Regions from separate parts of the Homo sapiens genome. Here region 2 is linked to region 1. The links are contacts of gene promoters, found by promoter capture Hi-C in blood cells and fetal thymus (Javierre and others, 2016). All regions are on one chromosome and are shown on one strand. The core of a region is centred on a gene start or on the middle of the fragment in contact, and the rest is flanking DNA. Distances in the headings are between cores, read along the strand shown. Region 1 holds the start of RAPH1 (Ras association (RalGDS/AF-6) and pleckstrin homology domains 1). Region 2 has its middle 66 kb from the start of CD28.

Evidence for each region. The method cuts DNA at HindIII sites, captures the fragments that hold promoters and counts their contacts. A CHiCAGO score of 5 or more calls a contact.
Region 2: a contact is called between a fragment that was not itself captured here and the fragment with the promoter of RAPH1 in region 1, in 1 of 17 cell types (M0 macrophages). The highest score is 5.0, in M0 macrophages.

What each region holds. Positions count from the first base shown.
Region 1 is chr2:203,531,827-203,538,631 of GRCh38, forward strand. It overlaps RAPH1 (Ras association (RalGDS/AF-6) and pleckstrin homology domains 1), which reads right to left and starts at 3,475. Exons shown (of 14, transcript NM_213589.3): 1 at 3,285-3,475. RefSeq lists silencers at 3,244-3,343, 3,414-3,503, 3,554-3,623. The HindIII fragment of the contact is 18,695 bases long and covers 1,523-6,805 here.
Region 2 is chr2:203,637,072-203,643,876 of GRCh38, forward strand. No RefSeq gene overlaps it. Among named protein-coding and RNA genes, the nearest start is that of CD28, 66 kb to the right of the region's middle. The HindIII fragment of the contact is 3,710 bases long and covers 816-4,525 here.

The DNA of each region.
Region 1 (6,805 bases), core at 2,225-4,724:
ATGGCAGTTCCTCAAAAATTAAATATAGAATTAGCATACAATCTAGCAATCCCATTTCTGGGTGTATAGAAATACTGAAAAAAGAACCGAAAGGAGGGATTCAAACAGTTGTATACCAATACTCAAGGCAGCATTATTCACAGTACCCCAAAGGTGGAAACAACCCAAATATCCATAAATGTGGTATATACATACAACGGAATATTAATCAGTCTGAAAAAGGAATGGAATTATGATACATCCTACATGGATGATCTTGAAGACAGTGTGTTAAGTAACATAAGCCAGACACAAGAATCAATATTGTGTGAGTCAAAAGTAGAAAAGTTGTTACTAGGAGGGTAGGGTAGAGGGAGGGAAGTGGATAGTTACTGTTTTGTTTTTGAACAGGGTCTCACTCTGTCACCCAGTGTGCATGATCATAGCGCACTGTGGCTTGTAGAATTACTGTTTAATGGGAAGAATTTCAGTTTGGGATGATAAAAAATTTCTGGAGATGGTGGTGATGATGGCACAATAATGTACTTAAGCCACTGAACTGTACACTTAAAAATAGTTAAAATGGTAATTTGTATGTTATGCATACTTTACCACATTTCTTTCAAAGAGTATATGTGTGTGTTGCTTTAGTGGCAGTGTAAAAACATGGTTAAGAATACAAGCTTAAGAATTAGGCTGCCCGGTTTCAAATCCAGCTCTGCCACTATAGCTCTGCAGTCTTTGGGCAACTTATTGTCTGTGCCTATTTTCTCAAATAATAGACTCTATTTCATAGGGTTATGGCGAGAATTAAATAAATTATCACATATAAAGTGTTTAAAACAGTGTACGTCATACAGTGGCCACTTTTTATTATTATAAGTTTAAAATACATTTTTATTGAGATTAAAGTCAAACATCTGCAGAATCTCTGAAATTCTCAAGTTCAGTGAAACAGTTTAAGAAGCAGTGATCTAATCCAAACTTCTCATTTTATAGGTAAAGGAATTAAGAGTCCAAGATAAGTTATCTGCCTGAGGTCACATCTTGCTTCACTAATATTAATTTTCCTAAAATTAAGTGTTTGGGATTAACAATACTAATGTTGACATTCAATTACTTCCAAACCAAGGCAACCAAAGCCATGAGATTCTACAATGTGTAACCAAGAATCTGTGAATAGTGTGACAGTTATCCACGATGCCAATCTAGTAAGTATTTATGGGGTGAGCACCAAAGGGCAGCAAAACCAAAAGACATAATCATCCTCAAAGACAATGGTTAAAAACACCTCTTTGGAAAATAAAGAGTTAAATATTTGTGAAAACACACCCAATAGTGCCCACTACTCCACTCCTTTCACCCAGTCACATACTCTATAATCTTAGTGAGACCTCTGAGTCTGAAAAATAAGCTGCTGCTTCTACCAAATAAAGCTAACGTTTATCATAAGGCAACATCTACAAATAATTCTTTATTACATTCAAACAGGAGACAGCAATCTAAATTATACAAAATGTCTAACCCAAAAAATCATGAATTAAGCTTTTTGTACTTACTTGAGTAGGGCTGCATCTGGTTTCTGGGAAATTCACCACACAAAAAGCAAAATAACGGAGACAATCTTTGAAGGTCAGACTCAACAAGAGTTAAAAGCTATTGAGCGTCTCTATTTTGCCCCTCCCCCAAAGGTCCTCCCCCTCAATTCGGCTCTCAAAGGATAGCACCACCATGTGAAATGTCCTCCTCCCCATCTGAATCTGCTGAAATCCTACTCATCCTTAAAGGTTTCACTTAAATGCCGAGGCTTCCATGCATTCCTCCCTCAATTTAGAATTAATCTCTCTTCTTCGCTCTCCTATTCTATACCTCAACATTTTACTATATAGTTCACTGTATTACACTTACCTACATTCACTAACCCCCCGCACCGCACCCCCAAAAAAACCACCCCGAGGAGGAAAGGAATTTAAGGTGCTGTTAAACACCTCTATGCCAGGCAAGGTGCTACGCATTTTGCATACATTATCTCATTTAATCTACATGAAAAACATCTGGGGAGGTAAACAGGTGGTGTTATTCCCATTTTACTGATAGGGAACGTACTGCAGAGTTCAATAGCTTATCCAACTCACATTGCAAGCCAATTCCAGGGCGTACGGTTTCCCCCACTCCGAAGAGCTCTTTCCACCACCCCATGCTTGTTCACCTGGTGTCACCCAGCCTAACTGACAGAGTAGGTATTCCATAAATGTTTGCTGAATTTAATATCCCCATGGACTGACTCTTTAATAATCCGATCACGCCTCATCCCTAACCCGTTACCTTTACTGTTCCTTAACGGTGGACTTTACCTACATAAGCAGCTCTCCACATTTCCCTGAGAAATGCTGCAGACAACATCAACCCTTATTGGAAGATTGAGTGAAGAACTTTTCCATTCTCCCGGATTTCCCCAACGGATCTTCCCAAAGAATTTAAGAAATGCACACACGCAAGACACATGTAACACTTACACCCTCCCTCAAGGCTCTTATTTCATATTAAACCATGTCTTCGAGCTTGTAAGCAATAAGGTTTATGCGGTTTCCAGCTCACACAGTGGGGACACCCTAAGTCACTGCCTTAAGAAAACCACATCTTTCAACCTGTCTTAACACGAAGGCATCCTAATACTATCACACTGCCCCCTCCCTCCGTCCACCCCCCCCCCCCCCCCATGAATTGCAGTTTGGATTTCCGGCGGGAATGTATAATACAGACCGCAAGAGGAGACGCGGTTAAAAAGCAATGAAGCAATTACTTATCCTGTTTAATTAGAAAGAAGACACAGAAGGAGCCCCGCCTTTCAAAATCTCTGCACTGAACTCATCTATGAAAGATGGGGGCATCGAAACCCAAGCAACCCGACATCCAGTAGCTGGTTTCTGCAGCTGGGCGGGGGAAAGTCCTTTCCTCCCTGCGGTCCCGGGCCACCAGCCCCCGGTGCTGGGTCGGAGAAGCCTAACCGCACCCTCCCAGGCGGCCCCTTATCTCATTGTCTCCCTCCGTCGCGGTCCCCAGGGGCGCAGGGTGCAGTCCAGGCCCCACCGACCTCCATCCACCAGCCGGGAGCGGTCCAGCCAGCCCCGGCCCGATCCCCAACCTGGCAACGACCCCGCCCCAGGCTGCCGCCGACCGTACCGCACCCGGATGGCGGGGCCGGGCGCCGGGAAAATGGAGGCGGGAGCGGCAGGAGCGCCTCACGGCCCCGCGCCCAGCCGGCTCCCTACCCCCTGGCCCCGAGGGCGAGGCTAACCACTCACCGCGGCAGTCGGTCGGCCTTCCCGCGGCCCCGGGCAAGGAAACCGCCGCTCGCGCTCCTCCAGCCGCTGCCTCCGCCTCCTCCCCAGGCGCGGCGCTCCCTCGCCAGAGACGCAGCGACTGCCAGCAGCTCCCGCGCCGCGCGCTCAGTGACTGACTGACTGACTGACTGACTGACTGACTGACTGACTGGCGGGCGGCGGCGGGAGCGGGGGCGGGGCGGCCGCAGCGCCCCGCGGCGGCGGCGGCGGCGGCGGAGCCGAGTGTGCTCGCGTCCAGCCGAGACGCAGAAGGCGGGGTTGAGGGCCGGACTGCCGACTGTAGGGCCGACTCGCGCGGGACCGCGCGCCGCCCCCGCCCGCCGCCAACCACTCACTTCCGGCGCAGGCCGCCGCGCCCGCCGCCCTTCCCTAGCCCGCGCCCCGCGCCGGCCCTCCGCCCTCCCTTCAGGCGCCCGGCCGCGCCCGGCCGCACTCAACCGCGGCTCCGCTCGTGCCTCGCCTTTCCTCCGCAAGTCCCTGTGAGCCGCCTACAGGAACGAGTGAATCAGAGAATGAATGAGTGGGGAGGAAAATCCCAGTGCTGCCCCACCCCCTGCTCGCCTTTCATAGGAAGCCGGCCCAGCAGCCTCTGTCCTAGCGCCCTGGGAGGCACAGCAGCCTCCAGCAGTTCTGTCAGGGAGCTGTACGCATCCACCTTTATACGCTGTCCGTGTATTCAGAGACTCCAGAAACGCATCCGGGGTTGGCTCGGTCACTTACAGGACCATTGTCGTTGAGATCTGTGAGGCCCTTCTTTAGGAAATCCCATTTTGGCCAAAAAGTCTCTGCAGTTTCATGGAATGTATTGGGAAACTTAGGAACGGGACATTTCGATGACCTTTACTTTTTAAACTTCGAAATCTGTTAATCCTGCCTCCTTAATTTCTGTCCCCCCACCCCATCGGAATTGTGTAGTAGTAAGGTGTCGGCATTTTTCCTTATCGCTAAGCTCAGCTGCTGCCTCTTTAGATGCAGGCTTGACTTCGGCAGACTTTTAGATTTTAAGTATGTCCTTATTTTGACCTTCACCTAAAGTTGATCAAAGAAAGGAACAAATGGAACTAAGTTATGTTTGCTTGGCTACATGCAAAGCAAGTTTGTTGACAGCATTAAAACAATTGAGAAATTGGGAGTGTGACCTGAAATTGGTTGCAATGAACATTGCTTTTTCATGTCTTCCCATCTGCTTGCTAAGAATTTATTTAAATTTTCACAAAGCATTGACTGTACATTCCTGAAATCCTAGCTCCCTCTCTAAGAATGAGAGTGTTCATTTCTCTGTCCTGGGGCCAAATCCTGGTTTGGTTAATTACATTCTTACTTCCTGATATTCTTGAGGACTTTCAAGTGGTTTCAGTCTTTTTTGTACAATCTGTTCCAAACTGGTACACAATCTGTTTCAAATTGGTATTTAGAACCATACAATACAGATACTGGCTGCCTTTCACACTTGAGATATCTGTACTTTTGAAACATAACTGCCCTTTTGTATTTTAAGTTCAGTAGGTATGTCAATATTCTTGTATAGAATAATACTATCTCTTGACTGGATTAAGAAAATGTGGCACATATACACCACGGAATACTATGCAGCCATAAAAAAGGTTGAGTTAATGTCCTTTGTAGGGACATGGATGAAGCTGGAAACCATCATTCTCAGCAAACTATCGCAAGGACAGAAAACCAAACACCACATGATCTCACTCATAGGTGGGACTTGAACAATGAGAACACTTGGACACAAAGCAGGGAATATATCACACAGGGGCCTGTTGGGGGGATGGAGAGGGGGGAGGGATAGCATTAGGAGATATACCTAATGTAAATGATGAGTTAATGGGTGCAGCACACCAACATGGCACATGTATACATATGTAACAAAGCTGCACGTTGTGCACATGTACCCTAGAACTTAAAGTATAATAAAAAATAAAAATAATAAAAGAATAATACTATCTCTTATAAATGAAGATGATCCTGCTGACCAACTTCTTTTAGACTTCTCTTCCTTTCTTGTGGGAATCATCATTTGCCACCTAATTATTTCAAGAAGTTATCCTCCAAAAGTGAATATAATACAACACTTTATTCATCCTTGTATCTCCCACAATATCTAGCATAGTATCTTGCACAATAAGTATTTATAAATTAATAAATGCTTTAAAATTTTTCATAAGTGATAATTTTATACAAATGTATCTAGTCTTTCACCTCATTTCCCTTGTGACCAAGTTTGTTGACATTAGACACACCTGGGTGCCAAACTTAATGAATCCTATTGTCATTAAATGTACTAGGCTGTGTGATACCTTACAAGGAAGATGATTCATTTAAACCTCCTTAAAAAAATAGACGATTGAAGCCAGGAGTGGTGGCTCGCACCTGTAATCCCAGCACTTTGGGAGGCTGAGGTGGGCGGATCACCTGAGGTCAGGAGTTGGAGACTAGCCTGGCCAACATGGTGAAATCCCATCTCTACTAAAAATACAAAAATGAGCTGAGCATGGTGGCGGGTGCCTGTAATCCCAGCTACTCAGGAGGCTGAGGCAGGAGAATCACTTGAACTTGGGAGTGGAGCTTGCAGTGAGCCAAGATCCTGCCATTGCACTCCAACCTGGGTGACAAGAGTGAGACTCCATCTCAGAAAAAAAAAAAAAATAGACCATTGAGTGCCTTTTACATAGGTCTTAGCCAACTCTTCTCCAAGTGCTTAGCCTAAGATCAAGGTTAATTAAAAGAGAAAAAAGGTCACTTTCAGTCATTGAGAAAAGAGTGTTCTCATCAGTTTCTTTAAACCATTAAATCATTCGTTCATTCAATCAGAGTTTATTAAGCTACAATTAAGGCCCAGGAATACAAAGACAAGAAAGACGTGGCATGATGCTTCCTGCCTACAAAAAGCATACAGTCTAGTGGGTAAAGCAGGTAAGGAAGTCATTGTTAGACTGGAAGTCCATTACCAGATCAGGAAAGCCTTCCTGATGGGGAGATTCTTGAACTGAATGTTAAATGATAGGGAGGAGCTAACCAGAAGAAGGAGGGAACAAGCATTCCAAACGAAGAAAACAATATCTCTGCAGGTGTGTGGAAGCACCAAGCATCACCATGCTTTAGAGGCACCGTAAGTGTATTAGTCCGTTTTCATGCTGCTGATAAACACATACCTGAGACTGGGAAGAAAAAGAGGTTTAATGGACTTACAGTTCCACATGGCTGGGGAGGACTCACAATCATGGCAGAAGGTGATGAGGAGCAAGTCACATCTTACATGGATGGCAGCAGGCAAAAAGAGAGCTTGTGCAGGGAAACTCCCATTTTTAAAACCATCAGATCTCATGAGACTTATTCACTATTATGAGAACAGCACGGGAAAGACCCACCCCCATGATTCAACTATCTCCCACTGGGTCCCTCCTACAGCAGGTGGAAATTATGGGAGCTATAAGATGAGATTTGGGTGGGGACACAGAGACAAACCGTAT
Region 2 (6,805 bases), core at 1,421-3,920, 100 kb after region 1:
GGCAGAGAGGCTCATATTTGAATCCAGCACTTGCTTGCTCTGTGGCTACAGCAAATTACCTAATCTAGCTAACCTCAAATTGTTCAATAAAATAGGAGTAATAAGGTTGGTTGTTGTGAGGAATGAATGAAATAATGTATGCCACACTTCCTGGCATAATAAACGGTAGTTTTTATTACCACAGTGTCAGCAGTACTTGCCTTGGGGATGGTGTCGGGGAGAGAGGAAACCTTAGTAGATTTTGATCACTGGCTTGGCTTCTGGAAAGGCACTTCCTGAATTTACAAAAGTTTTTGTGAGGAAGTAGAGAAAGGAGGGATCGCATGTAAAGTGGCTCAGACAATTCATTGGGTGAGACATTTTGAATTAGAAAAGCTCAAAAGGGGTAAGCACAAAAAGTTTACGGGACGAAATCAAAATGCTGAGATGCAAGATGGGAAAGGTGGGCTTCAGCTTGAATGACAGCCCTGCTAGAATTAGTTCAATGAGTGCTGTTTATTTATAAAGTCAGTAAGATAGTGGGATGCATAAAAGTCAAAGGGCAGGAAGTGGCTTCTCAGCTTTTCCCAGCACTGGTCTGACCTCAACTGTGGCTACTTTGTGTCTCCCCTTTAAGGAGGTTGTGGGGAACTGGCAGAGCTCCAGAGAAGAGCAAAAATGTAATTAAGGCTTGGAAAATAAAGGCTATGAGGAAAGGCCAGAAAGCTGTAGGGTTAGTTAACTTAGAGAAGAAAGGTCCAACTGATTTGAAGGGTCATTAACAGAAAAACATTGGTTGTTTCTCATCTCCACAAACAACAGGACAAGAGGAAAGAAGCTTACATTGCACTGGAGAAGGGTTTGGCCTGTGAGAATTGTTAACAAGGAAGCTCTCAAGCCTCGTGCTGGCAATTGAAAAAGAAAATGGATTAAAGTGCAACTACTGTGTGCCCACCCATTCATTCACACTGACTTGCAAAGGGAGTGTGAAGGTGGTTTCAGAAACCGTTTGCATAAGTTTGAAAAATAAACCTGTTGTTTCCTCTTCATTTGAACTCATTTAGTTGTTTACTATTTAAATCCAGATATTAACAAAAAGTTAGTTTGAAGGTTTAGATGCAAATTAGATCGGTTCAGAACTTTCTAGGTAAGGCCTTGCCCTATTAGGTTGATTTTGACCACCACAATCTTTTAGGCCAGGCTTATTCACTACATCTCAGGAGAAACTATATTTGGTTGTGACTTTTGGGAAGAGTCGGATAAACCCCAGTGCTGGCATCTATATTATTGCACAGCAAGGCTGCAGTGATCTGAACCCGCAGGCCTCTCTGTCTTTCATTTTGGCCCTTTGGCTGGCGATAGAAAAGGTGTGGCCCTGCAAGGATTATGAAGAGTTTCAGCTCAGGATGTGGTGGTGTCCAAGTTAGAGGGAGAGGTGTACATTTGTTTCTGCAAATATGTGGTCTCTCAATGATTCCTGCTATGCTTCCAATTTAGGTGACTGAATTCAGTTTGGATACTTCTGCCACAAAGTGAAGGCATGCTTAGTAAGGATTTTTTTTTTTTTTTTTTTTTTTTTGAGACGAAGTCTTACTCTGTCACCCAGGCTGGAGTGCAGTGGCGTGGTCTTGGCTCACTGCAACCTCTGTCTCCCAGGTTCAAGCGATTCTCCTGCCTCAGCCTTCCAAGTAGCTGGGACTACAGGCACGTGCCACCACACCTGGCTAATTTTTGTATTTTTAGTAGAGATGGGGTTTCACTATGTTGGTCAGGCTGGTCTCGAACTCCTGACCTTGTGATCTGCCTCAGCCTTACAAAGTGCTGGGATTACAGGCATGAGCCACCCTGCCTGGCCAAGACAGAGTCTTACTCTGTCCCCCAGGCTGGAGTGCAGTGGTGTGATGTTGGCTCACTCAACCTCTGCCTCCTGGGTTCAAGCAATTCTCCCGCCCCAGCCTCCCAAGTAGGTGGGACTACAGGCATGCACCACCACACCCAGCTAATTTTTTTTGTTTTTTTTTTTTGTTTTGTTTTTCTTTTTTTTAGTAGAGACAAGGTTTCACTATGTTGGCCAGGCTGGTCCCCAGCTCCTGACCTCAAGTGATCCGCTAGCCTAGGCCTCCCAAAGTGCTGGGATTACAGGTGTGAGCCACCTCGCCAGGCTTAATGAAGATTTCAAAAAGACTAAAAGAGCTTTACCCATCATATTTCTGTTCTCCTTTCCATCTACCTCTTTCCATTAGCATTTCTGTTATTAATTTTCAATTACCTTAGTAATACAGAACAATATATCTTGGGATATTTCCATGTTGGCATGTATAGCTCTACTTCCTTTGTTTTAACTAGTGCTTTTTTATTCCTTAGTATAGATATACTGTCATTTATTTTTGACATAATTTAAAAATACTTTAGTAATAATGGTGAAGGCAGAATAATGGTTACCTTTGGAGGGGTATTGGTCGTATGTGGCGTGCAGGAATATCTGGGAGGATGCTATAAATAAATGTTCTATATTTGGCTCTGAGTAGTGATTATATAGGTGTATACACATATATAAAATTGTCATTTTTATACTTTACATACTTTATTGTATGTAAATTATACCTCAATACAAAAGTTTTTAAAGTGAACTAAAATCATCATATATTAAAGGTATTATAAAGTGTTAAATTTCATTTCTAAAGAAATAGGACAGGGATGCAGAAAAGGAGAGGTGGGGAGGAAGGGAGCTAACATTTATTAAGCACCTTCTATCTGTGTATTATATAATTTCTTATATAATTATCAACAACTCTGTGGAGTGGGTATTCTTTTTTTTTGTGACAGGATCTCACTCTGTCGCCTAGGCTGGAGTGCAGTGGTGGGATCATGGCTCACTGCAGCCTCAACCTCGTGGGCTTAAGCGATCCTCCCACCCTAGCCTCCCAAGTAGCTGGAACTACAGGAGTGCTTGACCACACCCAGTTAATTTTTACATTTTTTGTAGAGATAGGGTTTCACCATGTTGCCCAGGTTGGTCTTGAACACCTGAGCTAAAGTTATCTGCCCACCTCGGCCTCCCAAAGTGCTGGAATTACAAGTGTGAGCCACTGTGCCCAACCATTTTCTTTTTTTTCTTTTAATTTTTAATTTTTGTGGGTACATAGTAGGTGAATGTATTTGTGGAGTACCAGAGATGTTTTGATATAGGCATGGAAGTGAAATAAGCACATCAGAGTAAATTGGGTATCCATCCTCTCAAGCATTTATCCCTTGAGTTACAAGCAATCCAATTATACTCTTTAAGTTATTTTAAAATGTACAATTATTATTGACTATAGTCGTCGTGTTGTGCTATCAAATAGTAGCACACATTCATTCTTTCTAACTATTTTTTGGTATCCGTTAACCATCTCCACCTCCCCTCAGCTCCCCACTTCCCCACCCAACCCCAGCCTCTGGTAACCATCCTTCTACTCTGTATGTTCATGAGTTCAATTGTTTTGATTTTTCCATCCCACAAATAAGTGAGAACATGCAATGTTTGTCTTTCTGTGCCTGGCTTATTTCACTTAACATAATGACCTCTGGTTCCATCCTTGTTGTTGCAAATGAATGGCTCTCATTTTTTTTTTATGGCTGAATAGTATTCCATTGTATATGAGTACCACATTTTCTTTATCCATTCATCTGTTAATGGACACTTAGGTTATTTCTAAATCTTGGCTATTGTGAACAGTGCTGCAACAAACATATCTCTTTGATATACCGATTTCCTTTTTTTTTTTTTTTTTTTTTTGAGAAGGAGTCTCACTCTGTCTCCCAGGCTGGAGTACAGTGACACGATTTCAGCTCACTGCAAGCTCCGCCTCCCGGGTTCATGCCATTCTCCTGCGTCAGCCTCCCGAGTAGCTGGGACTACTCGGGAGTCCCAGCACCCGCCACCACGCCTGGCTAATTTTTTGTATTTTTAGTAGAGATGGGGTTTCACCGTGTTAGCCAGGATGGTCTCGATCTCCCGACCTCGTGATCTGCCCGCCTCGGCCTCCCAAAGTGCTGGGATTACAGGCGTGAGCCACCACGCTTGGCTCCGATTTCCTTTCTTTTGGGTATATATTCAGCACTGGGATTGCTGGATCATATGGTAGCTCAATTTTTAGTTTTTTGAGAAACCTCCAAACTTTTCTCCATAGTGGTTGTACACAGTGTATGAGGGCTCCGTTTTCTCCACGTCCTCACCAGCATTTGTTACTGCCTGTCTTTTGTATATAAGCCATTTTAACTGGGGTGCTATATCTCCTTGTAGTTTTGATTTGCATTTCTCTGATGATCAGTGTTGTTGCACCTTTTCCTGTTCCTGTTTGCCATTTATATGTCTTCTTTTGAAAAATGTCTGTTCAAATATTTTGCCTATTTTTGATTGGATTAGATTTTTTCCTATAGAGTTGTTTCAGCTTCTTATATATACGGGTTATTAATCCCTTGTCGGATGGGTAGTTTGCAAATATTTTCTCCCATTCTGTGGGTTGTCTCTTCACTTTGTTGATTGTTTCCTTTGCTGTGCAGAAGCTTTTTACCTTGATGTAATCCCGTTTGTCCATTTTTTGCTTTGGTTGCCTGTGCTTTTATGAGTTTTTGCTCAAGGAATTTTTGCCCAGACCAATGTCCTGGAAATTTTTCTGATTTTTTCTTGTAGTAGTTTCATAGTTTGAAGGAGTGGATATTCATATTCCATTTTTTGTAGACGAGAAAATATAAAAAGGGTGGCCAGGCGCGGTGGCTCCCGCCTGTAATCCCAGCACTTTGGGAGGCTGAAGTGGGCGGATCAGGAGTTCAGGATGTGTCCGGAATTGGTGGGTTCTTGGTCTCAATGACTTCAAGAATGAAGCCGTGGACCCTCGCGGTGAGTGTTACAGTTCTTAAAGGCGGCGTGTCCGGAGTTTGTTCCTTCTGATGTTCGGATGTGTTCGGAGTTTCTTCTTTCCGGTGGGTTCGTGCTCTCGCTGGCTCAGAAGTCAAGCTGCGGACCTTTGTGGTGAGTGTTACAGCTCTTATGGCGGCGCGTCTGGAGTTGTTCGTTCCTCCCGGTGGGTCTGTGGCCTCGCTGGCTTCAGGAGTGAAGCTGCAGACCTTCGCGACGACTGTTACAGCTCATAAAGGCAGTGTGGACCCAAAGAGTGAGCGGCAGCAGGATTTATTGCAAAGAGTGAAAGAACAAAGCTTCCACAGGGTGGAAGAGGACCCCAGCAGGTTGCCACTGCTGACTAGGGCAGCCTGCTTTTATTCTCTTATCTGGCCCCACCCACATCCTGCTGATTGGTCCATTTTACAGAGAGCCAAGTGGTCTGTTTTGACAGGGTGCTGATTGGTGCAGTTTACAATCCCTGAGCTAGACACAAAGGTTCTCCACCTCCCCACTAGGTTAGCTAGATACAGAGTGTGGACACAAAGGTTCTCCAAGTTCCTACCAGAGTAGCTAGATACAGAGTGTCGATTGGTGCATTCACAAACCCTGAGCTAGACACAGGGTGCTGACTGGTGTATTTACAATCCCTTAGCTATACATAAAAGTTCTCCAAGTCCCCACCAGAGTAGCTAGATACAGAGTGTCCATTTGGTGCATTCACAAACTCTGAGCTAGACACAGGGTGCTGATTGGTGTGTTTACAAACCTTGAGCTAGATACAGAGTGCCGATTGGTGTATTTACAATCCCTGAGCTAGACATAAAGGTTCTCCAAGTCCCCACCGGACTCAGGAGCCCAGCTGGCTTCACCCAATGGATCCCGCACCAGGGCGCAGATGGAGCTGCCTGCCAGTCTGGCGCTGCAGTGTGCCCGCACTCCTCAGCCCTTGGGTGGTCGATGGGACTGGGCGCCGTGGAGCAGGGGGCAGCGCTCGTCGGGGAGGCTCGGGCCACACAGGAGCCCACGGAGGGGGCGGGGGGGAGGCTCAGGCATGGTGGGCTGCATGTCCCGAGCCCTGCCCCACGGGAAGGCAGCTAAGGCCCGGCGAGAAATTGAGCACAGCAGCTGCTGGCCCAAGTGCTAAGCCTCTCACTGCCGGGGCGGCGGTGCCGGCCGACCGCTCCGAGTGCGGGGCCCGTGGAGCCCACACCCACCTGGAACTCGCGCCGGCCCGCAAGTACCGCACGCAGCCCGGTTCCCGCTCGTGCCTCTCCCTCCACACCTCCCCGCAAGCTGAGGGAGCCGGCTCTGGCCTTGGCCAGCCCAGAAAGGGGCTCCAACAGTGCAGTGGCGGGCTGAAGGGCTCCTCAAGTGCCACCAAATTGGGAGCCCAGGCAGAGGAGGCGCCGAGAGTGAGCGAGGGCTGTGAGGACTACCAGCACGCTGTCACCTCTCAAGGAGATCGAGACCATCCTGGCTAACACGGTGAGAACCCGTCTCTACTGAAAATACAAAAAATTAGCCGGGCGTGGTGGCGGGCGCCTGTAGTACCAGCTACTCAGGAGGCTGAGGCAGGAGAATCTTGTGAACCCGGGAGGCAGAGCTTGCAGTGAGCTGAGATGGCGCCACTGCACTCCAGCCTGGGCGACACAGTGAGACTCCGTCTCCAAAAAAAAAAAAGGGTAAGTTTGCTCAAATTCACACACACTTGGTAAATAACAGGGTCAGGCGTTGAACTAAGATCATTCCAACTCTATTCTGAACGTAATTCTGAAAAGAGGCTGTTAAAAGTTTAAGAAAGTAGAGCTCATAGGCTGAGTGAATTGCCCAAGATCATGTCAAATCCACTGGTCTCCTAGCCCACCACACTTCGTTAAAATGTAGTTTTTGAAAAAGATGGGGTCCCACTATGTTGCTCAGGCTGGTCTTGAACTCCTGGGC